Regions from separate parts of the Homo sapiens genome. Here all the other regions are linked to region 1. Evidence: promoter capture Hi-C in 16 types of primary human blood cells and fetal thymus (Javierre and others, 2016). All regions are on one chromosome and are shown on one strand. The core of a region is centred on a gene start or on the middle of the fragment in contact, and the rest is flanking DNA. Distances in the headings are between cores, read along the strand shown.

Evidence for each region. Contacts are between HindIII fragments. The CHiCAGO score rates a contact against its expected background, and 5 or more counts as called.
Region 2: the fragment with the promoter of GALNT1 here is called in contact with the fragment with the promoter of RMP24 in region 1 in 4 of 17 cell types (M2 macrophages, naive CD4 T cells, activated CD4 T cells and 1 more); the score reaches 6.8 in M2 macrophages.
Region 3: a fragment that was not itself captured here is called in contact with the fragment with the promoter of RMP24 in region 1 in 1 of 17 cell types (naive B cells); the score reaches 6.0 in naive B cells.
Region 4: a contact is called between a fragment that was not itself captured here and the fragment with the promoter of RMP24 in region 1, in 5 of 17 cell types (naive CD8 T cells, non-activated CD4 T cells, total CD4 T cells and 2 more). The highest score is 7.7, in naive CD8 T cells.
Region 5: a contact is called between a fragment that was not itself captured here and the fragment with the promoter of RMP24 in region 1, in 1 of 17 cell types (naive CD4 T cells). The highest score is 5.2, in naive CD4 T cells.

Annotation. Positions count from the first base shown.
Region 1 is chr18:35,968,768-35,974,373 of GRCh38, reverse strand. RMP24 (ribonuclease MRP subunit p24) reads right to left here and starts at 1,695. Exons shown (of 5, transcript NM_031446.5): 1 at 1,569-1,695; 2 at 1,467-1,489. The coding sequence starts at 1,645. LOC105372066 (a long non-coding RNA gene) reads left to right here and starts at 1,923. Exons shown (of 4, transcript NR_188032.1): 1 at 1,923-1,976. RefSeq lists an enhancer at 1,013-1,905 and silencers at 1,825-1,974, 1,914-2,208. The HindIII fragment of the contact is 7,007 bases long and covers 1,158-5,606 here.
Region 2 is chr18:35,579,542-35,585,210 of GRCh38, reverse strand. GALNT1 (polypeptide N-acetylgalactosaminyltransferase 1) reads right to left here and starts at 3,471. Exons shown (of 12, transcript NM_020474.4): 1 at 3,349-3,471. RefSeq lists a silencer at 3,730-4,429. The HindIII fragment of the contact is 12,017 bases long and covers 1,729-5,669 here.
Region 3 is chr18:36,277,584-36,283,420 of GRCh38, reverse strand. No RefSeq gene overlaps it. Among named protein-coding and RNA genes, the nearest start is that of FHOD3, 17 kb to the left of the region's middle. The HindIII fragment of the contact is 195 bases long and covers 1,627-1,821 here.
Region 4 is chr18:35,490,727-35,496,208 of GRCh38, reverse strand. All of the region lies in intron 1 of INO80C (INO80 complex subunit C), which reads left to right. Among named protein-coding and RNA genes, the nearest start is that of INO80C, 4.5 kb to the left of the region's middle. RefSeq lists enhancers at 4,189-4,850, 4,851-5,482. The HindIII fragment of the contact is 4,983 bases long and covers 596-5,482 here.
Region 5 is chr18:35,609,767-35,615,600 of GRCh38, reverse strand. All of the region lies in intron 1 of GALNT1 (polypeptide N-acetylgalactosaminyltransferase 1), which reads right to left. Among named protein-coding and RNA genes, the nearest start is that of MIR3975, 21 kb to the right of the region's middle. The HindIII fragment of the contact is 532 bases long and covers 3,168-3,699 here.

The DNA of each region.
Region 1 (5,606 bases), core at 446-2,945:
ACAATTAAGAATGCCAGGCACTGTTCTAAGTGCTGGAGACACAGCAGTGAACAAAGGACAATTCACCGAGGCATACAATAAATATAACAACGTCAAATGTTAAGTGCTGGGAATAAAAAAGTAAGATAGGAGGGGGGAATAGAAGTATTGATGGAGTTACTGTAATTTTAAATAGGTGGCTAGGGAAAGCTTCATTGAGTGATATTATAGAGACCAGAGGGAAATGGAGGATTCACATGAAAGCAGATATGTGAGGCAAGAATCCCAGGCAGAGTGAAGAGTACCTGCAAAGGCCCTGAAACAGAAAAGCAAGGAGACCTAGTGTGACTGGAGTTGCGTGAAGGAAAGAGTACGTCAGAGAGGTATGCAGGTCTATGACACAGGGCCTTACAATCCTTTTAAAGGACTTTCACTTTTATTAATCCAGGAGAGAGCTGGTGATGGCCTGGAGCAGGGTAGTAGCAATGGATGTGGTGAGGAGTGGAGTGCAATGGCGCCATCTCCGCTCACTGCAACCTCCACCTCCCGGGTTCAAGAGATTCTCATGCCTCACCCTCTCGAGTAGCTGGGATTACAGGCGTGCACCACCATGCCAGGTAATTTTTTTGTATTTTTAGTAGAGACAGCGTTTCGCCATGTTGGCCAGGTTGGTCTCGAACTCCTGGCCTCAAATGATCCGCCCGCCTCTGCATCTCAAAGTGCTGGGATTACAGGGGTGAGCCACCGCTCCTGGCTGATTTTGGCTACATTTTAAAGCCAACAGGATTTGCTCGCATACTGGCCTGGGGGAGGAGAGAGAGTTAGGGAGTCAAGAATAGCTCCAAGGTTTTTGGGCTCAATAACTGTAAGGGAAGAATGGAATTATTTACTGAAATGAGAAAAACTGGAGGATCTTGTTGGGGGTTAAAGCTCAGGTTTTGGACATATTAGCTAAGTTTGAATTACTAGACATTGAAAAGAATTTGTCAAGAAGACATTCGGATATATGAGTCTAGAATTCAGAGGAGAGGTCTGCGCTGAGTATATACATTTGTAAGTCCTCAGTATATGGTATTTAAAAGCCATGAGATTGGATGAAAAACTGTCACCAAGGAAGCGAGTGTGCCTAGAAAAGAGGTCCAAGGGCTGAGTACTGGGCCACGACAATACTTAAAGCTTGGGGAGATTAGGAGGAACCAGCAAAGCAAATCGAGAAGTAATAAATGAAGAGGTGAACTACGTAATGACCTAGAAGCCAAGGGAGGAAACTATTTCAAGACTGATCAATGTGTCAAATGCCGCTAACAAAGCAAGACAAGGCACATTAAAGAATTTGGATTTTTCACGAAACCGAGACACATGCGGGCTTTGTTGTTGTTGTTTTTATGGAGGGAAGTGAGTCCATCGGCCTTATTTGAGCGTTGTGCGGAACAGAGGAAAGCGGGGCGACAAGAGCCCAAAGCACAAGAGACAGGCGTTCTTCTTACCGTGCGACGAAGTGTAGGCCCAGCTGTAAAAGAGAAAGAGACTTGTGAGGAGCAAAGGAACACCTACCCGCTCGCCTCCCGCTTCCCCTCCAGTCCTCTTACAGGAGGTAGCGGGCTTGGCCCGGGCAGCTGTCGTGCAGTCCCCGCGCTGCAGCCTCAAGGTAGTGCTTCTGTCTCATCGCCGCCGCCGCTGCCGCTGGCTCGCCGCGGGAACCAGGTGAGAAAATAGGGCGCCGGAAGTCGGCTTCCCAGCGTCCCCGTCGTTGGTGTCCGGACTCAAGCTGCTTCCGGAAACAGGCACCGTAGGCAGACAGGTTCCGGTTTCCTTCGCGTCCAGTCTGGCTTGGAGGCGTGCCCAGCCGGGAGGCGGCCCCACCCGCCCGCCGCGTCCCCGCCCCCTCAGTTCCACCCCTTGGCCTGCCGGGTCCTCTCAGGCACCCAGCGGAGTTTCGAGTCAGACTTGAGCTCGGGCGTAGCGGCTAGACCGGGCTGTGGCGATAGAGTCCAAAGGTGAGGCTCCCACCCGCCTCTCCATCTTCCTCCCGCCTCGCCTCCTCTCTGACAGCCCTTTTGTGATTGCCCTGCCGCAGCTTCGCCCTCCACATTCGCCGGGCGCGGTACTGACTGGTGCGCCGGCGGGCGGAAGCGCTGCCAGCAACGAGGCGGCCGGGAGGAGCGTCCCCAGTCCAGCCTGCCCTCCGCCTGCGTAAACGCTAGCGTTTCTCTTTTTGTAATTAAAGTGAAATTCACATAACGTAATATTGACCATTTTAAGGTGAACAATTCAGTGGCGTTTAGTAAATTTACAATGTTGTGCAAGCACCATTCTGCTATTTCCAAAATATTTCGCCGAAGGACAGCCAACTCCATGAAGCACTTACGGCCAATCCTCCTCTCCCTCCCAGGCCTTGGCAACCACCAGTCCGCTTTCTGTCTCTATGGATTTACCTATTCTGGGCATTTCATGTAAATGGAATCATACACACGACCTTTTGTGTCTGGCTTCCTTCACCTAGCATAATGTATCAGGTTCATCCACCTTGCAGCACGTATCAGTACTTCATTCGTTGTTATGGCTGAATAATATTCCATTGTATGGCGGTATCACAATGGTTTATCCATTCATCAGTTGAACGTTTGAATTGTTTCTACTTTTTGGCTGTTATGAATGAATGCCGCTGTGAACATGTGTGTACATGCATTTGTTTGAGTGCCTTTTTTCTGTTCTTCGGGGTATAATACCTAAGAGTAGATCTGCTGGGTTATGTAGTAATTCTGTGCTTAATGAGGGTTCCAGTTTCTCCGTATCCTCACCAACATTTGCTTTTCTTTTTCTTTTTTTTTTAAATCTAGCCTTCCTAGTGAGTATGATGTAGCATCTCATTGTGGTTTTGATTAACATTTCCCTGACTACTGATGCTTTTGAGCAGCTTTTCATGTGCTTGTTGGCAATTTATGTATCTTTGGCTGTTTAAGTTCTTTGCTCATTTTTTATTGGAGTTGTCTTTTTGTTGATAAGTTGTAAGGTTCTTTTAATGTGTATGTTCTGGATAGTGGACCCTTATTTAGCCTGCTTTATTTATTTATCTGAGATGGGATCTCACTCTGTTGCTCAGGCTGGAGTGCAGTCGTGTGATCACAGTTCACTGCATTCTTGAATTCCTGGGCTGGGTTAAAGGGTTCTCTTGCCTCAGCCTCCCTAGTAGCTGGGAACCAGGCACACTACCATGCGTAGGTATTGTTGTTGTTGTTGTTGTTGTTGTTATTATTATTATTATTTTGGTAGAGATGGGCGTCTCACTATATTGCCCAGGCTGGTCTTGAACTCCTGGGCTCAAGTGATCCTCCCACCTCAGCCTCCCATAGTGTTAGGATCACAGGTATGAGACACTATGCCCAGCCCATTTTTAATTTTAAAAGGGAGCTAAATTGGCTAGGCGCAGTGGCTCACGCCTGTAATTCCAGCACTTGGGGAGGGCAAAGCGGGTGGATTGCCTGATCTCAGGAGTCGGCGACCAGCCTGGGCAACACGGTGAAACCCTGTCTCTACTAAAATACAAAAATTTAGCCAGGTGTGGCGGCATGCGCCTGTAGTTCCAGCTACTTGGGAGGCTGAGGCACAGGAATCGCTTGAACCCAGGAGGCGGAGGTTGCAGTGAACCGAGATCACAGCCACTGCACTCCAGCCTGGGCGACAGAGCGAGACTCCGTCTAAAAAAAAAAAAAAAAAAAAAAAAGGCGGGAGGCGGGGGGCTAAATTATATAAAGATTTGTAAAGAGAAAGTATATATTTACATCTCTATAGGCATTTTAACTTTTTCCGAAGAAAAGTTATTTTCCCTGCTCTTCCCACCTTTCCATCCCACTTCTCTGAGGCGATCAACATGAATAATTGGGTGTCTCCTCTACCTATGTCCTTATACACTTAAGTACGTGTATAAATATGCTACCCCCCACCACTTACCACGACCACAACAAAAAGAAACAAACCAAACACACACACAAAACCAAAACCAAAAGTAAAATGTTAGTTCCTTACTGTATAACTTGTCTTTTTTCCTTAACAGCAGGCCACAGACATCTTTTCAAGTTAGTACATGCTTTTAAATAGCTGAACATATTACAAAATGTAATGAAACATAATTTAATTTATTTAATAAATAACCATATTTTATTTTCCTATTGATGTTCATTTGGAAAAAAATTCGTGCTTTGCTAGTTAATACAGTACTGGTGGTTTTATTTCTTTTGTCTGAATTCCTAAAAGATAAATTACTGGGTAGAATAATATGCACATTTTTTATATGCCAGATCATCCAGAAAAGGTTGTAGCAATTCATATTCCCAGCATCAATGACTAAGAAGGCTGGGTCAAATTAGATAGGTGAAAGGCAAATCCTCTTTTCATTTATCCCTTGATGGTTTGCATTTTCTCTTATGAAGAGAAATCTCTTGTTGGATTATCAGTTTTTAGAAGATCTTTTATTTTGGTGAAATTCACTTTCTGCTTGTCATATGTGATGCAATATTTTCTTCTTCCTTATCTTTGGCATAATTTATAACTTTTTAACATTACAAAATTTTGTATGTGATCAAACAAGTCACTCTTTTCATTATTGGATCTGGGTTTTCTGTGTGGTCTAAAAAGTCCTGCTTTGTCAAAGTTAGGCAACTAACTATTCAATTAGATTTTTTTGTTTGTTTGTTTGAGACAGAGTCTCACTCTGTTGCCAGGCTGGAGTGCAGTGGTGCGATCTTGGTTCCCTGCAACCTCCGACTCCCTGGTTCAAGCGATTCTCCTGCCTCAGCCTCCCGAGTAGCTGGGATAACAGGCATGCACCACCATGCCTAGCTAATTTTTGTATTTTTAGTAGAGACAGGGTTTCATCATGTTGGCTGGGATGGTCTCTATCTCCTGACCACATGATCCACCTGCCTTGGCCTCCCAAAGTGCTGGGATTATAGGTGTGAGCCACTGCACCTGGCTAATCAGATGTTTTTCTCATACTTTTCTAGTATGATTTCTTCCATGCACATATTTAATTGATATGAAATGTATTTTCACTTAAATGTAAGAGCATCTGACATTTTTTCAAAATGGATAGTAAGTTATACAAAAGCCCCATGCTAGGTAAACTAGTCTTTTTCCATTTGAATTGAAATAAAAATAATATGCAATGAGCACTGTATATGTGCCAGGCACTTTTCTAAGCATCTTAACGTGTATTAATTTATTTAATCCTCACAACACCACCATGGCATAGGAGAAATGCCACTACACCATATAGAAGTTCTGTTTTGTTTTGTTTTTTACATAGTTGTATCTGTTTCTAGGTCACTAATAAAGCAGAAAGAGGGAAAATGTGAAAATGAAATCCAATATGTGTGCATGTGCTGAGACCCCAGTGGCGCTAGAGGAATTAAAGACACACGCACAGAAATATAGAGGTGTGAAGTGGGAAATCAGGGGTCTCACAGCCTTCAGAGCTGAGAGCCCTGAACAGAGATTTACCCACATATTTATTAACAGCAAACCAGTCATTAGCATTGTTTCTATAGATATTAAATTAACTAAAAGTCCCCTATGGGAAAGGAAGGGATGGGCTGAATTAATTGCAGCAGGAACATGCCCTTAAGACA
Region 2 (5,669 bases), core at 2,222-4,721, 390 kb after region 1:
ATAAAAATGGGATAAGAAATGTGGAGGGTAACTCTGAAGGGTCCCCAAAAGTCAGGTGCAGGAGTTTAAATGTTACATACCCAGAGAAGCCGTCCTCCCCAACCCAGCCAACCTGAAGTTCCCCCACCTACAATCTCTCCAGCATCCTTTACTGCTAATGTGTAGCAATAATCACAAATTGTATTTATGTACTTATTTGCATGTTTATTTAATGCTATCCACCCCCAGTTATCTTGAGACTACAGCACTGGGTGTGGCACACATTAATCGCTCCATACAGGGGTCCCCAACCCCCAAGCCATGAACCAGTACCAGTCTGTGGCCTGTTAGAAACCTGGCCACACAGCAGGAGGTGAGCAGTGGGCAAGCGAGCATTACTGCCTGAGCTCCACCTCCTTCCGGTCAGATCACCAGCGGCATTAAATTCTCATAGGGCAAACACTACTGTGAATTTTACATATGAGGGATCTAGGTTGCACAAGACTTATGAGAATCTAATGCCTGATGATCTGAGGTGTAACGGTTTCATCCCGAAACCATTCCCCTGGCCCCCAACCTGGTCCACGGAAAAACTGTCTTCCACAAAACTGGTCCCTGGTGCCAGAGAGACTGGGACTGCTGAGTCAATAAATATTAATTGAATAAATGAACAAACAGTAAGTAGTCACTCCTAACTCTCTTCTACGAAGTTGCCGCACTCCTCTTCCTCCATTATCTGTCACTCCCTTTGCCTTGGTCCCTCTTTGCCTAACTGCCTCTTTTAACTGATCTCTCCTCTTTCCTTCCTCCTCTACCTCAGCCCAGCTCTTAACCCATCAAAAAATAAAACTTGGTATATAACTGCAATGGTATAACACTCTTCTGCATCTCAACCAATTAGGAACTGTATCCAAGAAATCTGTTACTGAAAAAAAAGTACCAAAGTTGTATGTTACATAAGCATGACAGATGTATTACATAAATAAATAAGTAAAAGCAGAAACAGCGTCAACCTGATTGTGACCTTTCATGAGAATGAGTATGGAAAGCTGTCCATCAAAGAAAGCCAGGACAGTATTCCTCAAAACTACCAAAGTTATGGAAAACCAGACAAGACAGAAACTATCACAAACCAAATATTAAAGAAACATGATGTCAAAATACAATGTAGTACACTGGACTGGATTCTGGAACAGAAAGAAGATATTAACGGAAAAACTGGTGAAATCCAAATAATGTCTGGAATTTAGCTACCTAAAAAAATACAAAATTTTTTAAAAACTATATGAAGCACTAATGTGTGATTCAGATTCAAAATTATTATTATATTAGTTAAAAGAGGGATAGGGCATGCAAGTGAGCCAGGAGCAAAACTCCAGTCAGAGTAGCTGGAGCGTCCCACTGAAAGTTACAAACAGATCTATCTTCATTTTGACTCTGGTCCCATGCTCTCTCACCTGATGTCATGAGAATTACCTTGCCTGTAACTGCTTGGGATTAACAATCAGTTTTGTTGTTGTTGGGTTTTCAGTTTTTTGAGACAGGGTCTCGCGCTGTCACTCTGGAATAGCTAGGACTACAGACGCATGCCACCACACCCAGCTAACAACCACGCTTAAGTATCCTAGCACACTCATTCGTTTATCCAACAAGCATTTATACCAAGTGCTTATTGCTTACCAGGCACTGTAAAGTCTTCAGTGATACATGGCTGGAAAAGGAAGCCACAATCTCTGCTCTCATAAAGCTTAAACTCTATTGAGAAAGCCAGGCATTTAACAAGTATTTGCATAAATGGTGAGTGCTCCCAAGAGTTTTGCAGTCTGCTGCTTAAGAGGCACCAAACAAACCAGCAGAGCAGTCATTAAACGCAGTTATCACCAGCACGCTGAACAAAGGCTTCTCAGGTTTCAAAGTGCACACAAATAACTTGAAATCCTGGTAAAGCAGATACTGATTCAGTTGATGTGCAGCGGGGCTTCACATTCTGCATTACTTGAGTCTGAGGTGACAGGGATGCTGCTGGTACACCATCCACACTTGGAATAGCAGGACTCGGAGTACCATGGAAACATCCTCAAAGGATCATGTAAAATGTCAATTCCAATAGGGCAAGGACATTGTGTCTCCCTTATTCACCATGTACCCAGAACTTAAAACTGTGCCTCATAGACAGATCGCATTCAGTAAATATTTACTGACACAACAAATGTATGTATAATTTAGACCAGGGCTGTTCAACTGTAGCAAAGAACCACATTTAGCTATGGAACACTTGAAATGTGGCTACTGTGACCGAGGAGCTGAATTTTTAAAATTTAATTTTAATAGTCACATGTGGTTAGTGGCTCCCACGCTGGACAGTCCAGGTCTGGACACAGATGTGATGTAAAGAGGACTGGACTAACAAGGTCTAGGTTTGAATCCCAACTCTGCTGCTCAGATTGTGACCTGAAAAGTTGCAACTTCTTAGGGCCTTCACTATTTCATCTGTGAAATGACAAGACCTCCTAACTCTCAGCGTTCTTGACACGATTATAAAGCAATGTATTAAACATAAGATATGATCAAAGTGACATTCTCTGCCCTCCAGAAACAGTTCAGAAAGACTACTTTGCCTATTGCCCACTTGACCAAAAAAATGCCAAGTGAGTTTGGTAGACGGGTTGGTTAGCTCAGTGGCTTTGAGAATGAGGACAAGGTCACAAATCTGGGGAGTAAGGGAACCTCATCTAGCAAGGCTGACCAGATAAGAGAAGCAATGACAATGCAAATCATCCCAATTCCTGGTAAATGCTTAAATGGGCAACGTATTGATTATGGATGAGTAAATGACATCTCATTCATTCATTCTTCCAGGAAAAGCGGAAAAGCTACTACATTACCTAAAGCCCGCTACTTCCCAACCACAAACATTTGCTAATTTAGGTCCGGGTCCTCCTCGGGGGCAGCGGGCCGGGAAGCCCCCTCCCCCGCTGCCGGCGTGTCTTCCCCTCCCCCGTGGCGCCGCGAGGGTCAGGCTGGCACCGCGGTTGCAAGTACCACACGGCCGAACCCAGAAGCCATATTTAGCTTTATTTTTGTCAATAAAACAAACTTCCGTCTTCTAAAGAAAAACGGTTCTAACTCAATGTCAAACTAGGACGGAAACTCGCTGCTCGCCAAAGCTGCCAACCAGAGACGCCGCGTGTCCAACGGCACCGGGGTCCCAGACCCGAACCCGCGCCGAGCGTGCCCGCGCCCCGGCCCCAGGCAGCGCCGGCCACAAAGGGACCGGGGACGCGGCCGCGGCGGGGCCTCTTTCTCCACCTCCGACCCGCGCGCAGCGCTGCGGCTCCGGGACTGCCCAGCCGCGGGCGATACACTCACCTCGCTAGGCGCGCGGCGGCGGCGGCGGCAGGCGTCCTCCGGGCCGGCCGCGGCGGTCGCGGCCGGTCCCGCGGCCAGCGCGCTACTCTCGGGCCGCCGTCCGCCGCGCGCTCCTCGGCCACTGCCGGCGGCTCCCCCGGCGGGCGGGCGGGTCCGGCCGGGCCCCGCTCCGCCGCGCCCGCCCCCGCCTCCGCGCCCGGCTCGGGTCGGCGGCTACTCCGGGCGCCCCGCTCGCGGGCTCGGGCGGCGCTACTCCGGGCCGCCCCGCATGCGCGCCGCCTGCCCGCTCACTTGGGGCTCGTCGCGCGGCGGGCGCCGCAGGGCGCCCGCAGGCGCTCGGGCGCGGTCCTCCCTGCGCTGCGTGCTCGGCGGCAGCGGCGGCGGCGGCCCGTGCGGCTGCGCGGGGGAGGCGGGGGCGCCGGCGCTCACCCGGATGCGCGCCCCCTCCGCTGCGGCGAGCCCACCGCGGGGCCGCGACGCTCCCCTCGGGCTCGGGACTCCGGGGTCGGGCGCGGCGCCCCTCCCGGACCGACCGCCCAGTCCCGGCCCCCGCTCACACGGCTACGGGCAGGGCCGGGCCAGGCCGAGAGGTGCCCCCGACCCTGGGTCGGGACAAAGAGGCTGCCGCAGCAAGTTAAAGACAACTCGGGCTGTTGCGCGTCGAGCAGGTCACGGGGTGGGAGGAGATGGAGGAGCCCTCACAGCGGATCGGCTCCCGGGCCGAGCGCGGGGCCGCCCCAACCCGGTCGGCTGCCTGAGGCGGCCGCGAGCGCGGGAGCTGGAGCGCTGTCAGCCGCGCTGAGCCTGCGCCTGGCGACCGCGATGCAGGAGGCCCGGGACTGAGGGAGGACGGCGAGAGCGGAGGCCCGCGACCCGCACCGCCGGGGCAGGCACCCGGGTCTCGGGGGCAGCAACGCCGGGGCCCTTGCAGAACGGGGACTGTTTGGGGAAGTGGCTCCCGCACAGTGCCCGGAGAGGGGCCCTCCCTCTGTGCCCCCTTGGGAAACACTGCTTGGTACAATTCCAATACCCAGCTGTACCCTGCCCTGAAGATAGAAGACAAAACCCTGGCTCTGTCACTCACGCGAGGCATAACCAACCATTCTTTTAATAAATTAATTTTCTACTTAAATAATTCAGAGGTTTGTGTCTTATTGCTTGCCAACCAAGAGCTGCAATAAGAGATTACTTAATATTTAAGTGGTCCCACTTTTAAATTTATATTACCTCTCACATAACCAAAAGGCTGTCCGAAAAAAAAAAAAAAAAACCTGAAGATTATCTCTGGAATTTTAGTATCCTGTTTTTGCTTGTCTACATCTTCCAAGTATTCTAAAATAAAAGTTAAAAGTTACTATTTTAAAAGTACTTATATAATATTTTGAAACAAAGTCAATCATGACTAGCCTGTTACTGTTCCACAAGGAAACTTCACTTTGGAATAAAGTTGTCATCGTTAAAAAATACTCTTATCTTGGGAGAAAAGATTGGCAAATCATATATCTGTTAAAGGACTTGTAGCCAGAATGTATGAAGAACTCTTACAACTCAGTAATAAGACTAATAGTCCAATTTTAAATGGGCAAAACAATTGAATAGACGTTTTACCAAAGATATTTAAATGATCAACAATTACATAAAAAGGTGTTCAACATCATTAGTTAATAGGGAAATGCAAATTAGAAGCACAACAAGGAAGTTCTTGACACCCACTACACTGGCTGTAGTACAAAAGACAGACAGACAATAGCAGTGTTGGTGAAGAGATGGAGAAATTAGAACCCTCATACGTTGCCTATGGAAATGTAAAATGGTGCAGCCACTTTGGAAAACAGTTTTCCAGGTTTTTTAAAAAGTTACACATGAAGTATTCTATCACCCAACAATTCCACTCCTAGGCGTATGCCTGAGAGAACTGAAGATAAATTCATACAGTAACTTGTACATGAATATTAATAACAGTGTTATTCATGATAGCCAAGAAGTAGAAACAGTCCAAATGTCCAGAAACTGCTGCGTGGATAAAATGCAGTATATGCCATACAGTGGACTACTACTCAGTAAAAGGAACGAAGTAGTCATAGAAGATACAACATAGAGGAACCTCAAAAACGATAAGCTAAGTGGAAGAAGCTAGATGTGTAAGAGCCTGTATTGTAGGATCTATTTACAGCCATGCCCCGGTCAATGATGGGTCACCTGTACAATGGTGGTCCCATAAGATTATATGCAGCTGAAAAGTTACTATCACCAAGTGAGGTAGCCTTCATAATGTCGTTGGGCAATGGGTTACCTTTTCTGTGTTTAGATACACAAATACC
Region 3 (5,837 bases), core at 475-2,974, 310 kb before region 1:
TTCTCACAATCACCATCCAGTGCAATGGGAGGCACACAGTGGCCATCACAGCTCATGAACAAATCACTTGCTAATGCTTATTTTTACAATATTTTATGTGTATCAAAAAGCAATTTGTTTAATAAACAATAATGGCTTTCCTTGAGTGAGGTGAGCAAAAAAATGGATGCCTGAGTTAGAGGCCTGGGTTCAAAACCTAGCCCCACTACTTACGAGCTCAGGGTCCTAGGGCAAGTGACTTACTCTCTCCGTGCCTCTCTTCCCTCATTTCTAAAATGGAGATGGTAATAGTCATAGATTTCTCATAAACTTGTTAGAGAGGATTAAGTAATTTAATACCTGTGAAGTGCTTACAATGGTGCCCACAATGATCATTATTCAGCAGTTTATCACAATGGTGAAAAGGCAGACCTAGGTTCAAATCTTATCCTTGCTCTGTATAAGTCGTCCTCTGATCTTGATTGGGTCAATTAATCCCTCTAAGCCTCAGTTTCCTCATTTGGAAAATGTAGGTATAAATACCTACCCTTAGGGTTTTTGTGAGAATTAAATAAAATAAAAGTGCATGACTCTATATACATTCACAAGTAGAAAATAAATGTTATTTTTATTAATAAATTTCTTTAATAAGAAATAGTTTTTAATGTGCAAAAAAGTATGATCTCAATAACCCTACTCATCTTCAGTTACTGCAATCAAAATTCCAACATACTACTTTGTCACTAAGTCACTAAATGAGTTGTTTTTCTCCATGTTTTATGAGAAAAGTCATCGTGCTTCCACTGGTAAGAATTAATTATTGCTGAGTGAATGATTAATTCAGCATCATTAAGCAACTGTGTTTTTTAAAAAGGCTAATTTGAGCTATAAGCAAAACATGTGGAAAGGGTACAACTACTATAAATTCAACATTTTGAATAGATTTCTCGTAAATCTGCTGCTTTAAATGTTAAATAAACATTTAAAATTCATTGGGACTTCTTAGCTGAAGCCATGTTTTAACAGGATTTATAAGTTTTTTCTAAAATTGGGGACCAAACTCTGCGTGTGAAATCATTTTTAAATGCTTCCCTCATGGGAACTGTTGAAATTAGTGACTAGATTATTTTAATGGTTTCTGCTTATACATTGGTTCCACCCACTAGATCCTCACTCAGCTCCTTAAGAGCAGGGACTATGTAAAATGCATCTTTGTGCCCCCAGCACGAAGCACAGTGCTCGGCACTATGATCCATCAAGTTTCATTAACCAAAGCTGGTGAAGAAGGCCAGGAGAGGAGGGTAGTGAGCCAGAGAGGAGCCCAGGGTGGCATCCAGCCAAGATCTCAAAGGGATGACAAAAGGGTGTTCTAAACTCCCAACGAGCTGTCTGGAAAGGCCAGGGCTGAGCTTTTTTCAAGAATCCTGGAGAGCCACCACATATGGCTTTTCCATCAATGCAAAGAACAGAGTCACAAGAGCACTAAGAGAAGCTACACAGAAGGGCACGAGTTATTGGTGGCACGGGGGAAAGTCTGGAAACCTATACACCAAATCATTCAAGGTTAACTGTGTCTCTGATAGGGTGGTAGGATGAGAGGGTATTTCTTTTTGCTCATCTCTATTTCTACTTTTCCCACAATAAGCTTACATTTCTGCATCAGTTCATTGCTCTCGGTGACTCTTGGATCCATCCTCTGAAAGGTCTTTTCTTCTCCATAACACTCCTTGGGTTATGTCCTTCTGAAGTGCCCGTCTGAAAAGGGCACTTTGGAGAATGTGCACTTTTTGGTGGCTGAATAGCCTTATCTTTTTTCTTTCTTTCCATATGAAGTCTGAAGCTTAGAAGTTTTTTTTTATATCTTGAATAGTCAGTCCCTTTTAGTCCAGACTGGTGGCGCTTTTGCTAATACAGATCTTTCAAAACTAAATGGAAGGTTTTTATTTTGGTCAACTCTATGTATTAAAAATCACACAACAATTCTGATGAGGAAATATTGACAAGAATTGGGCACATCAAGCTTTTATGGTACTACACATTTAAAACTTTCTAGAAACCCAAAAGTGTACCTTATTTCAGAGTTCTTAGCTAATTATGTGATGGCCATGACCTTGATGTGGTTCTCTCCTAGCCTGAGTTTATTTATCTTCCTTAGAACTTTGCTGAACTCTGCAAAAAGGAGCCCCATCAATGTGATTTTTTTCCGTATGTCTTCTAACATATGCCATACGGTTGGCATATGGTCAATGTCTCAAAAGACAACAGGCAACAGATTGATAAATATTTTGCCGCAATATAATAAAGGTTATCAACCTTCCAATTTGAAATATTTGAGTCCTTACTATTCACTGATGTGGTACACATCAGGCACCACATTTTCTATCCGTCAGAATTCTTAGTTGGAAACAATAGAAACTAATTCTCACAAGACTAAGCAGAAAATAGGTGTAATAAAGGATATTGTGTAGCTCGCAGACTCCCCAGAGAGCCAAAGAATCAGTTTTGGAGATTGCATAGCTACTCTAAAGTAGACACCACTAAAGGCTCTGCCAGGCATCGCACCACAGATCGTACCGCCATGCTCACTGCCTCCATCACTACCACCAGTAAGCCATGGAGATTTTTGCTTTGCTTGTTAGAGCAGTTAGTATTATTTACACTAATATTTCTTCTGCTTGCTAAAAGGTGTGTTTAATTACAAGTGAATGTGGAATTTCTATCAAAATTGTTCTCTTCATTTACTGAGACAATTTGACTTGCTCCTTTAATCTCTTATTTTCTAAAAGTAAACCTCGGCATCCTTGAAATTAATACAACATGGTCATAATATATCATCTTTGCAGATATTACTGAACAAAGTTTGCTACTTTTTAAAGAATTTCTGAATTTATGTTCATAAGTGATAGGAGCTTATAATCCTCAGAAATGGCTATATGAATATTAGATAAATTGGACTGCAGAGCAAAGAAAATTTCTAAGGACAAAGAATATTACACATCAATAAAGGAATAAGTCCATCACGAAGGCATAGCAATCTTAGGGGAAATGCACCAAATAACATAGCTCCAAAATACATGAAGCAAAAACTGATGCAGCAGAAAGAAAAATATTAATAAGACAAATACACATTGTATTCAGAGATTCTGGCAACCAGACAAAGACAGTGCAAGAAAAGAAAATTACAGACCAGTATCCCTCATGAGCTTAGATCCTCAACAAAATATTAGCAATCAAACCCAGGAATATATGAAAAAAATAAAATATCAGGATCAATGGAGTTTATCCAGGAATAGCAAGACTATTTCAATATTTGGAAACCAATCAATATAGTCCACCATAATAACCACAGAAGAAAAATCACATGATCATATCAATTGATACAGTAAAACCATTTAACAAACTTCAAATGCCCCCATAATAAAAGTTATCAGCAGCCTAGGAATAAGAAAGCAACTTTCTCAACCTCATAAAATGCACCTACAAAAACCTTATAGCTAAATTATACAAAATGGTGAAAGATTGAAAGGCTTATTCCTAAAATCAGGAAGAAAGCAAAGATATCTACACAATACACATGCTTTTCAAGCACATAGAGTATCTATAAAAATTGACCATTTTTATGATGACTGTAAACCATGAACCATTTTTTTTTGGACAGGGCCATAAAGCAAGTTTCAACAAATTTCAACGATTGAAATCATACAAAGTGTGTATTCTGACTATAATGCCACTGAGCTAGAAATCAACCAAAAATAACCTAGAGAAACCCCATATGTTTGGAAATGAATAAAAACACACTTTTAAATAACCTGTGTATAAAAAACAAAATCACAATGAAATATTGGAAAACATTTTTATCAGAATGGTAACAACAATACTATGTATCAAAATCTGAGATGAAGCCAAAATAGTACTTAAAAGAAAATCTATAGGCTTGTAAGAATATATTAGGAAAAAAGGAGAATAAATTAATTAAGCATTCATTCCAATAAGTTAGTAAAACAACAACAACAAAAACAACAGTAAGTTAAATCCAAAGATATTAAGAGGGAGCAGGTGCTGAGGAGAGAGCCCCTCACTAGCTACCACATGTTCCAGCCAGATACCACACATCTCTATCCCTCAAAGAACCCTGACCAGCCTCTGGTGCAGTGGTACCCCTAAGTGAACTCGCCCTTTTGGAGGCTCACCTGATTACTCTCTATCAGCCTGCCAGGCAGACATCTGGAGCTGGACCTAGGGATTGGGGTTTTGTGGGCTAGTGTGGGCTTAGCAACATTCCAAGGATATGGACAAGAGATTGAAAGAGGTGTCAGGGGCAAGTCAGCATTTGCTGTCCACTTCATTCAGTCCTATTTCGTCCTAAAGTGTGATCCAACCGTTGAAGATTTGTACATAGAGCCATGTGTAATTGCTAGCAGTGCAGCAATGTGTGATCCATCAAGAGCAGCTTGGATATACTGGGATAAGAAGAGTTTGGAGTCATGAAAGAATAGCGTATGAGGAGCAAAGCAGGTTTCCCATTGGCCTTCTTAGTCTCTCATGGAGGTGGTTTTGAAGAACCATCTTTTTGAGAATAACATATAAATAAAATCAATGACAAATTCTCAGAGTAAAGCACTGAGCAAATTTTTCCAATGACTATGGTTGGAAATAAAGCTAATGTGGACATTGCAGTTAGATAACTCTTGAATAAGGACCACAGCTACTATGACATCTTAGGTAGGACTAGCTACATAATTTGTGGAACTCAGTGCAAAATAAAAATGTGAAGCCCTTTGTTCAAAAATTATTCAGAATTTCAAGATGGCAACAGCAAAATATTAAGCTCAGCAGTGCTGATCTTACATCCTGTGACTTTACTAACCTCACTTATATTAGTTCTAGGAGTTTTTCTCTTTTCTTTTAAAAAGCTATTTGGATATTCTACATAGACAATCATGTTATTTGTGAATGAAAATGGTTTTATTTCTTCCTTTCTAATCTTCCCTTCTAAATAATCTGTGTATAAAAGGCAAAATCACAATGAAATATTAGAAATATTCTAATGAAACATTAGAAAACATTTTTATCAGAATGGTAACAACAATCCCATACTTCAGCGTTCTGTGTATGTTTATTAAGCCACATTTGTAAATCACATTGTTCAAATCTTTTATAGTTTTACTAACTTTTTGAAGGCTATTTCTGTCAATAACTGAAAAAGATGTATTCAAATTTCCCTCTTGTGATTATAGAATTCTTTATTTCTCTTCTAAGTTCTTCCTATTATTTTTTAACGTTAGTTTCTAGTTGGATTAGAATATTCTTCCCATTTTGCTTTATATCTCTTGAGAGTTTGTTTTGAGGAACATAAAAATTTAGAAGTCTTTCTTACAATTTTTAAAAATTTAGGCTGAATTTGTTATATGTTTCCTTTTTTAGTCCTAATAATGTTTGTGCTTTTTTTTCTTGCCAGAGGTTTGTAGTATTTTTTAGGTTTTTAAATTATGTTTGTTGCCCTTTTGTTCTGTGTTTCATTAATTTGTTTTCTGTTAGTTTCTTCTTCCATTTTCTCAGAATTTATTTTGCTATAATTTCTCTAACTCTTTAAGATGAAGTTTTTAGGTTTCTCCTTATATAAGCATTTTAGGATATAACACTTGTTCTTTGTATTATTTTAGCTTAATTTGCAAATTTTTATGTATGATATTTTAATATTGGTATGTCCTAAATGTTTTCTAACTCCTATTATGATTTTCTTTTACTTATGAGCTATTCAAAAGTGTTTTAAAAATATTATGTATATATCCTAGTTATTTTTGTTTTTGATTTATAATTTGATTTTGTTGTAGTCAGAAAATGTGGTCTGTATACCT
Region 4 (5,482 bases), core at 1,838-4,337, 480 kb after region 1:
ATTCTTGTACAAGTCTTTGTGTAGATAGATGCTTTCATTTCTCTTGAGAAGTAGTGGAATTGCTGAGTCAGAAGGTAGGCATACATTTAACTCAGTAACTGTTAAACAGTATTTCTCAAAGTAGTTGCACTGTTTTTGCATTCTTACCGGCAAAGTATGAGAGTGCCAGTTGCTCGAAATCCTCAACAATACAGAGTATTGTCAGTCTTTCATTGTCAGTCTTTAACTTTTAGCCATTTTGTTGAGTGTGTAGTAGTATCTCCTTGTTTTAATTTGTTTCTCTGATGGCTAATGATATCAATCACTTTTCATGAGCTTGTTGGACATTCCAGATCTTTTGTGGAGTGCCTAATTATTTTTTTCTAATTGGCTTTTAAAAAAAAATTATATTGATGTGTAGAAGTTCATTACATTATCTTTCTTGATTAGACTCCTTTGCCAGATGTATGTATTGTGAGTAATTGCTCCCAGCCTGCGACTGGTGCGTTTTGATAACCAGTTGTGCCAGGACCAAGGAGTGTCACTAGGACATATGGGTAGGAATAATTGTTTTGACCCCAAAGGGATTGTTGATCAACTTCCACTACCACAAGCTTCTGAAAGTGGTCAAATGCCTTCAGGAGACTGGAAATTCCCAGTAATCCAATATGGTGGAAATCTTAACTCTCTATTCCCTCTGGGCCTTTTTTGTATCCAAGCAGCAGCCTCAGGAGAAGCTGGAAAGGGCAGAGCATTTCATGAAATAGTGCCTTCTTTTGTCCTGACTCTCCTTTTCCCAACTGATATTTACTAAAGAAGACAGGGTCTTCTTCTGTCACCCAGGCTGGAGGACAGTGGCACAATCATGGCTCACTGCAGCCTCGACCTCCTGGCTCAGTGGATCCTCCCACCTCAGCCTCCCAAGTAGCTGGGACGACAGGTGCATGCCACCATTGTATTTTTGGTAGAGGTGGAATTTCACCACATAACCCAAGCTCGTCTCAAACTCCTGGGGTCAAGCAATCTGCCCACATTGGCCTCCCAAAGTTTAGGGATTACAGGCATGAGCCACTGTGCCCGGTTGTCTTAGATTTTTGCCTTGCTGTGATCCTTTCATTCTAGTTCCCTTTTCACAGCGTATAGGAAATAAGCAGGCATAAGCACAGTACCCCTGAGGGCTGCCAGGAATCTTCTTGAGGTCACCCTCATCTGTGTCACTTGCCCAACCTTTCTGTTCTGTTTCAGTTCAGTTCATGTAGCAGTAATTTATTGTACTGTTTCTGTTCCATCCCCAGCAGTATGCTTAAGACATTTCAAAGGATTATAGCTTGTCCCCACACTACCAAAAACATCCCAGGAGAGAATGACGTATATACATTGTGTTTAGTTTTCTACTGCTGTCATTACAAATTATCACAAATTTAGTGGCTTAAATAACACTCATTTAGTAGCTCATGGTTCTGTAGGTCAGAAGTCCTGACACAATGCAACTGGGTTGACTCTCTGCTCTGGGTATCACAAAGCTGAAATCAAAGTGTTAGCCGAGTTCTTGTCTGAAGGCTCTGGGGAGAAATTTGCATGCAGGTGAATTCAGGTTGTTGGCAGAATTCTGTTCTTTTGGGGCGGCAGGACTGCAGGGCCCCTGTCTTCTTGCTGGCTGTCAGCTGCTGCCCGTGTTCCTTGCCACATGGCGTTTTCCATTTTCAGAGCCAGCTATGGAGAATCTCCCTTGTGTCCAATTCTTCTCATGCTTCAGATATTTCAGACTTCTTTTATTGCTGACCCCTGGACTCAGATTTAAAAGATTTATGTGATTAGGCAGGCCTACTTGGATAATCACCTTTTTTAAAAGTCAGCTGATTTGAGACCTTAATTACATCTGCAAAACCCCTTTGTAGCTGCACCTAGATTAGTGTCTGCTTGAATAACTCGGAGAAATTGTGTGCACACCAGGGGCAGAGTACTTGCAAGGTAGCAGGGGTGTACTGGAATTCTACCTATCACACAAATGAAACCATTAGGAAGATATAGTAATGTCTAACCTTGAGCCAAAGCTAATTATAGGTAATTATAGGTGTTGGTGCCCTATTGTGGTGAGACACAGGAGGATGATTCCTCAGTGCTGGTGATGGTACTCAAAGGAGAGGTAGGGAGGCAGAGGGACTTGAAGTTGGCTTGGAGAGGTTTGCTGGAGAAGGCATTCCAGGTTCAGAGCTGTGCTCATTGTGAGATTAACCCAGGTTGCCCAAGGTTCCCTTAGTGGGGAAGTGAGTGTTTTTCTATAAATGATTGTATTTCTTGAGTTAGAGGAGATTTTATAGGTCTTTCATCACGTAAATTTCCCTACGTCAGTAATTTTAGCTATTTTGATTCTTAAGTAAAGGCAAAGTATGTAAAACTTTCATGGAATTTTAAAATTTACAAAGCACATTTACGTGTAGGACATTAGAGTGCCTTTTGAGATTGTTAAAGATAACTTGAATTATCATGGATTCTTAAGGTGGGTTTAACTTTCCTGAAATATGCTTGCTGTTTCTAAAGTAAAATTGAGTGCTTAGTTGAAATTTAAAGAAGTTTAGAAATTTAGATGCTTAGAAGTCCTGAGGAGTTGAAGGGAATATTTTTCAGCTAAAAGTATTCTGAGAAAAGCATTTATAGAAGCCTTCTTTACATCAGTGTTAGGAAATACTATTAAATAATTTAGTAGTACAAAAACAACTTTGTTTTATCATTTCATCAAGATGGCTCTCTCTAGTTCAGCAGAAATTACTACTAATGTTCATGCTTGCTAAGGGGTGGTACAAATCATCTTAGAATCACAATTCTGTGGATTTATATTTTCACTATAACAGTTGTTGATTAATAATGTTATGAAAGTGCAGTCTTCCATTCACTCTGGTTGTTACTTTGAAGGGATTAATTTTGGTGGGTTGGGGAACAGATAACTGTTAAAGTGAAAGGAATAAGGATAAATAATAGTAATTAATATTTATCAAGCATTTACTACATGCCAGGCACTGTTCTATGTACTTTCTAAGTACTATGTCATTTAATTCTCCAAACGACCCTCTGTGAATTGATCACTTCATTTTACAGATAAAAACGCCAAGAGCATAGAGAGACTGTGTAACTTGCCCAAGCTCACACAGTGTTAGTGTCGGGATTCGAACCCAGGCATGCCGTCCAGAGTCTACATTCTTTTTTCTTAACTGCCTCTCTTGATATCACTCTGTTACTTTGTATATTAGAAGATTATTAATTAGATCTCTGGTATAACCAAATTCATGGTACAGAGAAATGCTTTTGGCAACAGTTTTACTGAATCAATATAGGGTAATTTAGGCTTTTCAAATGTGTATTAAAGTTGATAAAATGTACTGAGAAATCTAATTAACCTATAGACTGAGAGTTACTTAATAGCCTCTTCATTTGTGAAGCAGCTAATAAAACATCTAAAGTGGAGAGGCAGTAGTTGCATCTTTAGGAGGATAGGGCAGATAATGAGAGAATCTTCTGTAATTGGAGGGGCAGCCAGATAATGCTGGACTGATTTGGTTTATTCATTGAAAAAATAGTCATCCTACTATTCAACTTTTGTAAAACACAAAAGTAAAAATTCAACAAATCCTGATAATTTTAAGTCTTAAAAGTTATTCTTTTCTATTTTTAAAATTACCTTTTTTTTCATTTTTAAAATTGACATAAAAAGTCACCCAATCTCCTTCCCCAACAACTATTATAATTTGTGTTTTCTACATGTAGATACAGTTTTTCATCATTATATTTGGTATATAGTATTACGTGCCCCGTTTTTCACTTAGCATTATTTTGTGAACATTTCTATGTGTTGATAGTCTTCTCAATTAGACTTTTAAAAGTCAAATAGTCTTTTATGACTATTGACTGCATTATATTCCAAGGAATTAACTACTCATATTTAATTGACTTTATTATTGGATATTGAGGTTGCATTTTGAATTTTTGCTGTTTTAAGTAACCCTATAGTAACCTTGCAGTTTTAGACCAGGGTCAGCTATTTGCATCTATAATTCTATGACATAGATATAACTTGACATTTGACTTTTCAGTAATAAGACAAAGGATATTTTTCTCCTTTCTTTGTAACCACAGACAGAATGTCCAAATTATCCTTTAGTCTGATTCAGAGTCAAGCACACTACTGTCTGGAGAGATGAAGCCATTGATTTGGGTTCTTCAGTTGGGCAGAGCAGAGCAGGGCGAGACCCAGGCCTTGTGAACTCCAGTCTATTAGCATAGGCGTGTGTTTCCTGAGTAGCAGGCTGGATTTCTCTTCCCTGAGACTTACATCAGCTCTGTTAGTGCTGCAAAGAGGGGGCGCCCCTTAGTGCTAGGCGTTCCTTCCTCTCCTCTTAGGGTGTTCATATCTTGGGGCGGGACAGTTCATCTTGTAAAGTCCTTAGTGATAATAGTGCTTTAGTAATATGGAAATGATGCATCATTTTAATTTTATCTTATTGCATCCAAGCCTCACAGACTTGATCTTCCCTTTGACTAAAGGTCTGTCTCCCTCTCATCCTGTTGTTAGTAGACACAGGAGTCTCAGCTAGGCTAAGGGTGTAGTAATGTGGGGGTCGGGGGAGAGGAAAGTGAAGCATAAAACCAGCTCTGGCCTGGGGCAGGGGTGTCTCTGGTTAGAGAAGGAAGGGAGCCTGCCACAATCTCAGAAGCAGGAGGCAGCACTGGTATGATGTGGCTCAGTTCACTCCAGGGTGGCTTCCTTTCTCTGCCCTCTCTTCAGCCTGACTTCCCAGCGGGGGTCTGGCAGAGGATGGAGTGAGCAAGCCGGCAGGAGGGGTCCCTTTCAAAAACCAGTGCTTCCGTGTGTCATTTTCATCCTCTTCTTGACTCTTCTCTAGCTTGCTGCCTGGAATGGCTGACTTAGACCTCTGGTCCTCTCTTCATTACCACCCTCTCCTTACTCTCAGCAGACGTGCTTGTCTGCCTGAATCTAACGAGGGCCCCTGTCTGGCATTTTTCTCCCCTGTCTCCCTGGGGCCTTGGAACTAAACGCCTATGTCAGAAGAATCCCCCTGTATTGCTTTCCTTTCATTGGGCACACAGCACCTTTGAGCTTCCTCACTGGGATTGGGGAAGTGGAATAAACTGAAAAGGAGAAATAACAGTATTTGGCCAGGCGCAGTGGCTCACACCTGGAATCCCAGCACTTTGGGAGGCCCAGGTGGGCAGACCACTTGAGTCCAGGAGTTCGAGACCACTGTGGGCAACATGGTGAAACCTTGTCTCTACAAAAATACAAAAGTTAGCTGGGCATAGTAGTGTGCACCCGTAGTCCTAGCTACTCATGAGTGGGGGCTGAGGTGAGAAGATGGCTTGAGCCCAGGAGGTTGAGGCTGCAGTGATCTGTGATTGTGCCACTGCACTGCAGCGTGGGTGACAGAGCGAGACCCTATCTCAACAACAACAACAAAATAATAAAAAAAGAAATGCAGTTTTTGAACAT
Region 5 (5,834 bases), core at 2,184-4,683, 360 kb after region 1:
CTTTCCATGCACACAAAACCCAAGAGATCTTAATTTTAGTACAGCCAAATTAATAAACCTTTTCCTTCAACAATTGTGCTTTTGGCTTCCAAAGCCTGAGGTCTAAAATACTCTCTAATATTTTATTCTGGAGGCTTAAGTTTTGCCTTTCACAATCTAGTCTTTAATCCATCTGAAATTGCTTTTTTTAATACAGTGTTAGTAAAAACCATTTTTTAAAATGTGGCTAAGAATCCCAACCATTTAAAACGTATTCCATTTCCTTGATTTGTAACATTAGCTCTGTCATGTATTAGCTTTCCACGTACTTAGAGTTCTGGTTTTTGCCTTAACTTCCTTCCATTATCTATTTGTCTATGCTTGTCCAAATATTATGCCATCTCAATGATTAAAGTTTTACACTATCTTAAAATCTTGTAAGACAAGTACTTGCTTCAGGAATGTCTTAGCCATTCTTGACCCTTTGTATTTCCAAATAAATTTTAGAATTAACTGGTCAAATTCCACAAAAACAAACAAAACCATACCCTGCTGGGTGTTTTTTTTAATAGCAATAAATTCATATATTAAAGACAGATTAATTGATACGTTTATAGGAAACCTTCTTTCTATGAACATGGTATGTCGTCACATTTATTTAGGTCTTCTTAATGTCCTTCGATATATTTCTATACCTTTCTATTTAAAGATCTTGCCCTCTCTTTTTCTATTTATTCCTAGGTGGCTTTTTATTTTTTTTACTATTGAGAAATATTTTTATTACATTTATTATTGTATGCTGCTAGTTTAGAGTAATAGAACTGACTTTACCATAATGATCTTCTTGTTGATTAATTGGCATTCCTTGCAGATTCTGGATGTTAGTCCTTAAATTTTACTATATCAATCATATATTCGCAACTTAATAAACTCCTGAATTTTCTATGAAGGTACTTATATTCACTCTAAGGAATGACCATTCTGTTCATTCCTCATAGCCCTGTAGCTCTTTGTTGCTTTACTGCACTAACTCATATCTCCAGTGCAATTGTGAAGAGGCAGGGTAACAGTGGGCATCTTTATATCGCTGCTGTTTTTCAAAGGAATACCATTAATGTTTCTCTATCAAATACTATGTTTGCTGTAGGTTTTTCACAGATGCCCTTTGTCAGGTTACAGAATTTCCCTTCTGTTCTTAGTTTGTTATGAGTTTTTACCATAAAAGAGAGATGAATTTTAATAAATTCTTTTTCTGTATATTTTAGGATGATATGGTTTTTTTAACTTTAAACTGCTTGTGTCGATAATTACATTAATAGTCCTTCTAATGCAGAACCAAGCTCGCCTTCCTGGAATAAACCCTTTGTTCAATATCCAGTATTTCCTTTATACACTGCTGAATTCAACTTGCCTAATTATTTTTGATAGTCTTTTGCTCTTTAGCCGTATTTTATACTCTCTAAACATATTAAGCATTTATCTTATATTACATATCTGACAACTACAATATCTGCAATGTTTGAATGCCTGATTACACGGTCTCCTTGCTCTGCTGATTAACTCATGGTTTATATAAAGTGTTTTTGGTTTTTTAAATTGTGAATGCATTTCTAGGAAGAAACTTTACCTGTGTCAATTCTCTGAGGCCTGTGTTCCTGTATTTCTCCAGTGAGGATTTCATTTGATTCTCAGTCCTGAGACTGAGACTACTTTTCACTAAATTCTTGGCTTGGTTGTTTTTTTTTCCCCCACCATTAAGGTAGTATGAACTTCAACCCCAAATCCAGTTAGAGTGGAACTGCAGTTATAATTTTTCGGGGAAGGTTATTTTACCCTTCCAGTGAAAAGCTGAAACAGGCAACCTTGTTCCTATGCTCCCTACCCTATACTTTTCCAACCACTGAGGGATAGGTTTTTTGCTTTTTCCTAGTTAAACCCACTGACAGCTTTCAGGGAGCTTCAGCTTTACACAAAGGTCTCTGGATCTTACTTAGCAACTGCTTGATCCCTAGACACCGTCTGGTACCCTATGGCCACCCTGCAAAAGCCAAAGTTCTGGGTTTTGAAGGACTTACAAATACCAGAACCCTCAGCACGGGAGCCAGTATCACTACTAACTTACCTCCCTGGATTCAAGATTTCTTGTTCTGGGCCTCTGGAAAGTTTCCTTACCTCTTGTCAGCTCAACGATGCATTTAAAAGATATTTTGAATATTAAGTCCAGTATTTTTAACATTTCATAATGTGGGACCTTTTTTTTAACCTCTACTCTGCCACGCTGCCAGAAACAGAAGCCTCTTAAAGTTTTGAATAGTCTGCTGAGTATTTTTCCCCAAAAGAAATGTACATCCACTTCTAGAAGCCAAAGGAAAAGCAATTCATTGAATTAACAAATATATTCTAGGCACTCAGTACGTATCAGTAAACTAAACAAAGATCAATGCATTCAAAGCACTTCTGTAGGAGCAGAGTAGGAGACAGGAAATAATAAACATAAGTAAACTAGATTATAGCACAGAAGGTATTGCAATGGAAAGAAAGAAAAATTGAGTAGTCAGGTAGGGAGGACCATGAGTGCCTGGTGGAGAGGAGCTGCGATCTTAAACAAGGTAGCTATTACTAAAACATTTCTTACTTCCCTATAACATACCACTGATTAATTTTTTTAAACATAAAATTTTAAGAAACTATGGGTACTTTCCTCCTCTCCTGGTGTGAGGTATGATGGAGAGCTGCCTACGGATTTTTTTTTTTTTGAGACAGAGTTTCATTCTTGTTGCCCAGGCTGGAGTGCAATGGTGCGATATTAGCTCACTGCAACCTCCACCTCCTGGGTTCAAGCAATTCTCCTGCCTCAGCCTCTCGAGGAGCTGGGATTACAGGCACCTGCCACCATGCCCAGCTAATTTTTTGTATTTTTAGCAAAGACAGAGTTTCATCACGTTGGCCAGGCTGGTCTTGAATGCCTGACATCTGGTGATCCATGCCTTGGCCTCCCAAAGTGCTGGGATTACAGGCGTGAGCACCACGCCCGGCCTAGAAAGGTTAATACTACATGACTCCATCTACTTCAAAGAAATTGGGGCACACTTTAATATTAATTGGAAATGCTAAAAAATTTATGATGCTATTTGTTCAAAAAAATTAAACAAATATAAAAATAAACACGATAGGCTTAGAGTGAAGCTTTTACTGAAAAAATGGTTAAATTAGCAGACTTATCTTTCACATTTCTAAAGATAATTAGAATTTAATTAGTATCACTATTAGGCAGTTCTTTTGAATTTTAAACCTAATCCAGAAGGCAAATTGTCCAATTATATCTCCTTCTATCTTTCATGGAGATGTACCCTATTTTTAACTCATTAAAACAGGTTTTTTCTCTTTTCATAAGAATCATGTGTGAAGTTATTAAATCACATCTTAAAAATATTTAAATCCAAACCTAAGACAGTATTTTGCAGCCTTATAATTATTTTCATTACTTTTCCCTTTATCTCTCAATTTTTCCTTCTCTTAAAATGTAGACAACAAAGCTAGAGCTCATATTTTATATAAACACTGTGATATAATTACATATAATAAATGATGTCTTTTTTAATGATACAGGTAATAAATAATGATGGTAATGAGGACACTTTATATTGCCTGTCAGATAAAACTCCCAAAGGGCAAGGCCTACAAATTTAGAGACAGGATTTTTGTGTAAAAACAGAAGCTTTGTGGGAAACTTTTGTCAGGATCCTTTTTTCAAGACAAAAAAGATTAGAAACAGTTTTACACAGAAACAAAACAGACTGAGTTAAGAATGTTTCCCAAGGCAGTCAAACACTGCATTTACCACAACAACGTATTACCATTAGCTGGTGGTGGTGCTGCCTAACACAGGGTCCAAGCTCTAGGCAGCCTCTGGCCAGCTGCCATTCCCTCCACTCTCAAGACCATGAGAATTCCTCCTGCATTTGGCACATACAATTAGATTACCAATTCCCAATATTAAACTTCCTCCACATCCTTACTTTTGTCTGATTACATATTGGACCTTGATTGAATTTTATTTTACATACTCTCAGATGTATAAAGAGAGCAAATTGTCTTTTAAAAACCTGAGTTAGATAACATTCGATTACATAAATATTTCTCTAAGGTTGCTGCAAATTATAGCAAATTTTCTTACTGACTTATATAAAATATTAAAAAGCTATTAAATAAAATACCTGAAAGTTAAACTATGGCACAGGGTGGAAAGTCTCTGCAGTATGTTCAACTGCCTCACTTTCTCTCACACAGTATTCCTGCCTTAGAGGTATCAATCCCTTGGCCAATTTAGTAGCTCAGCCAAAAAATGAGAAAAAAAGTGAAAGCATGGCTCCAGGGACCTTCCCCTGCTCCCGAATCCGTATTCCCACCACATATGCACTTTAACCAAAACAGCTCCACCTTTATCTTTTCTATGCATTGGAACTTGTTAGGAGATATTTGAAAATATACTCCTGCTACTAAAAAGTTTGAAAATCATCCACCTACAGCAGCAGTTCTGAAAATGTAGTACAAAGACCCCCACCCTATCCAACTCAAGGGGTCATCAAGACCCTTTCAAGGGGTCTGCAAGGTCAAGACTATTTTTATACTATGCCAAGTCACCATTTGCCTGTTTACTGTCATTCCCTCCTAAGCATGTGGCTGAGGTCCAGAGGCTACATGATATGCAGTATCAATAGACTGAATGGAAAAAAGAGGGTATGAGAATCCAGCTATGAGAAGCCAGACACTAATGGGATTTACACAAATGTCAGATAATGCCACACTTCTCACTTTTTTTGTTTTGGAAAAGTTATTTTTCATAAAAATGTTTATATTAACATATCACAAGTCTATTATTTTAAATAAATTATTTTTAAATGTCTAGGTTATCTTTAATTTGGTAAATATCAATACATATGAACCCACAAAACAAACTCTTCGGGGTCTTCAGTAATTTCTAAAAGTGTAAAAGGGTTTAGAGAACTACTGGATTAAGAACAATTAACTCACAGAAGAAAATTCAAAATCCATAATAAAAAAATCCACTTATATTCCCATCACAAACATTTATTAAATGCCAGTTTTATGCTGGGCTCTAGATCTACAGCAATAAACAGGACAGACAAGGTCCCTGCTCTCATGGAACTATAGTAAAGCACTAGGACACAGACAATAAACAAAAAGTGACAGCCAGTAAGGAACGCTCCATAAACAAACAAAAAGAGGAGTTGGCTTGTTAGCAAGTGACTGGGTGGCTACTTTATCCTAGGTGATCAGGAACGGCTTCTCTGAGGCAGGGCAATGAGAAGCAGCCTGGAAGAGCAGGGAGCCAGACACAGGAAGATCCTGCAGAAGGGCCTTCTAGGCAGAGACCACACCCTGGTTCCACTCTGCACCTCTTTCCCATGCCCTGCTCTTCATTCACATCCAACCACTCCCAGCTGCCCAATTACGTCATGCTTTCTCTGGCTTCCATGTCTGCACAGGTGTTGCTTTCTCTGTCTAAAATGGCCTCACAAATTATATAGCTGTTCTATTCCTTGAAATTTGAACACTCTGTGATCCATAAAAGTGTATCTTCATGGTTCCAGGCATAATAAAAATTAAAAAATTGAAATGATCTGTGTTCCATTCATCTCAAAAAATGACTTTCAGAACTATTTTCAACCTCGATCTAAAAGGATCAAATGTATACTGAAGAACAACCAAATCCTAGGGATTAACTTCATTTTTAAATAGTAAAAACATTAATTATTATTTGGGATGTCAGTGTTAAAACCTATGTCTTCAATGTAAAGAATCTAAGGGTATTAATACTAAGCAAAGAGTGG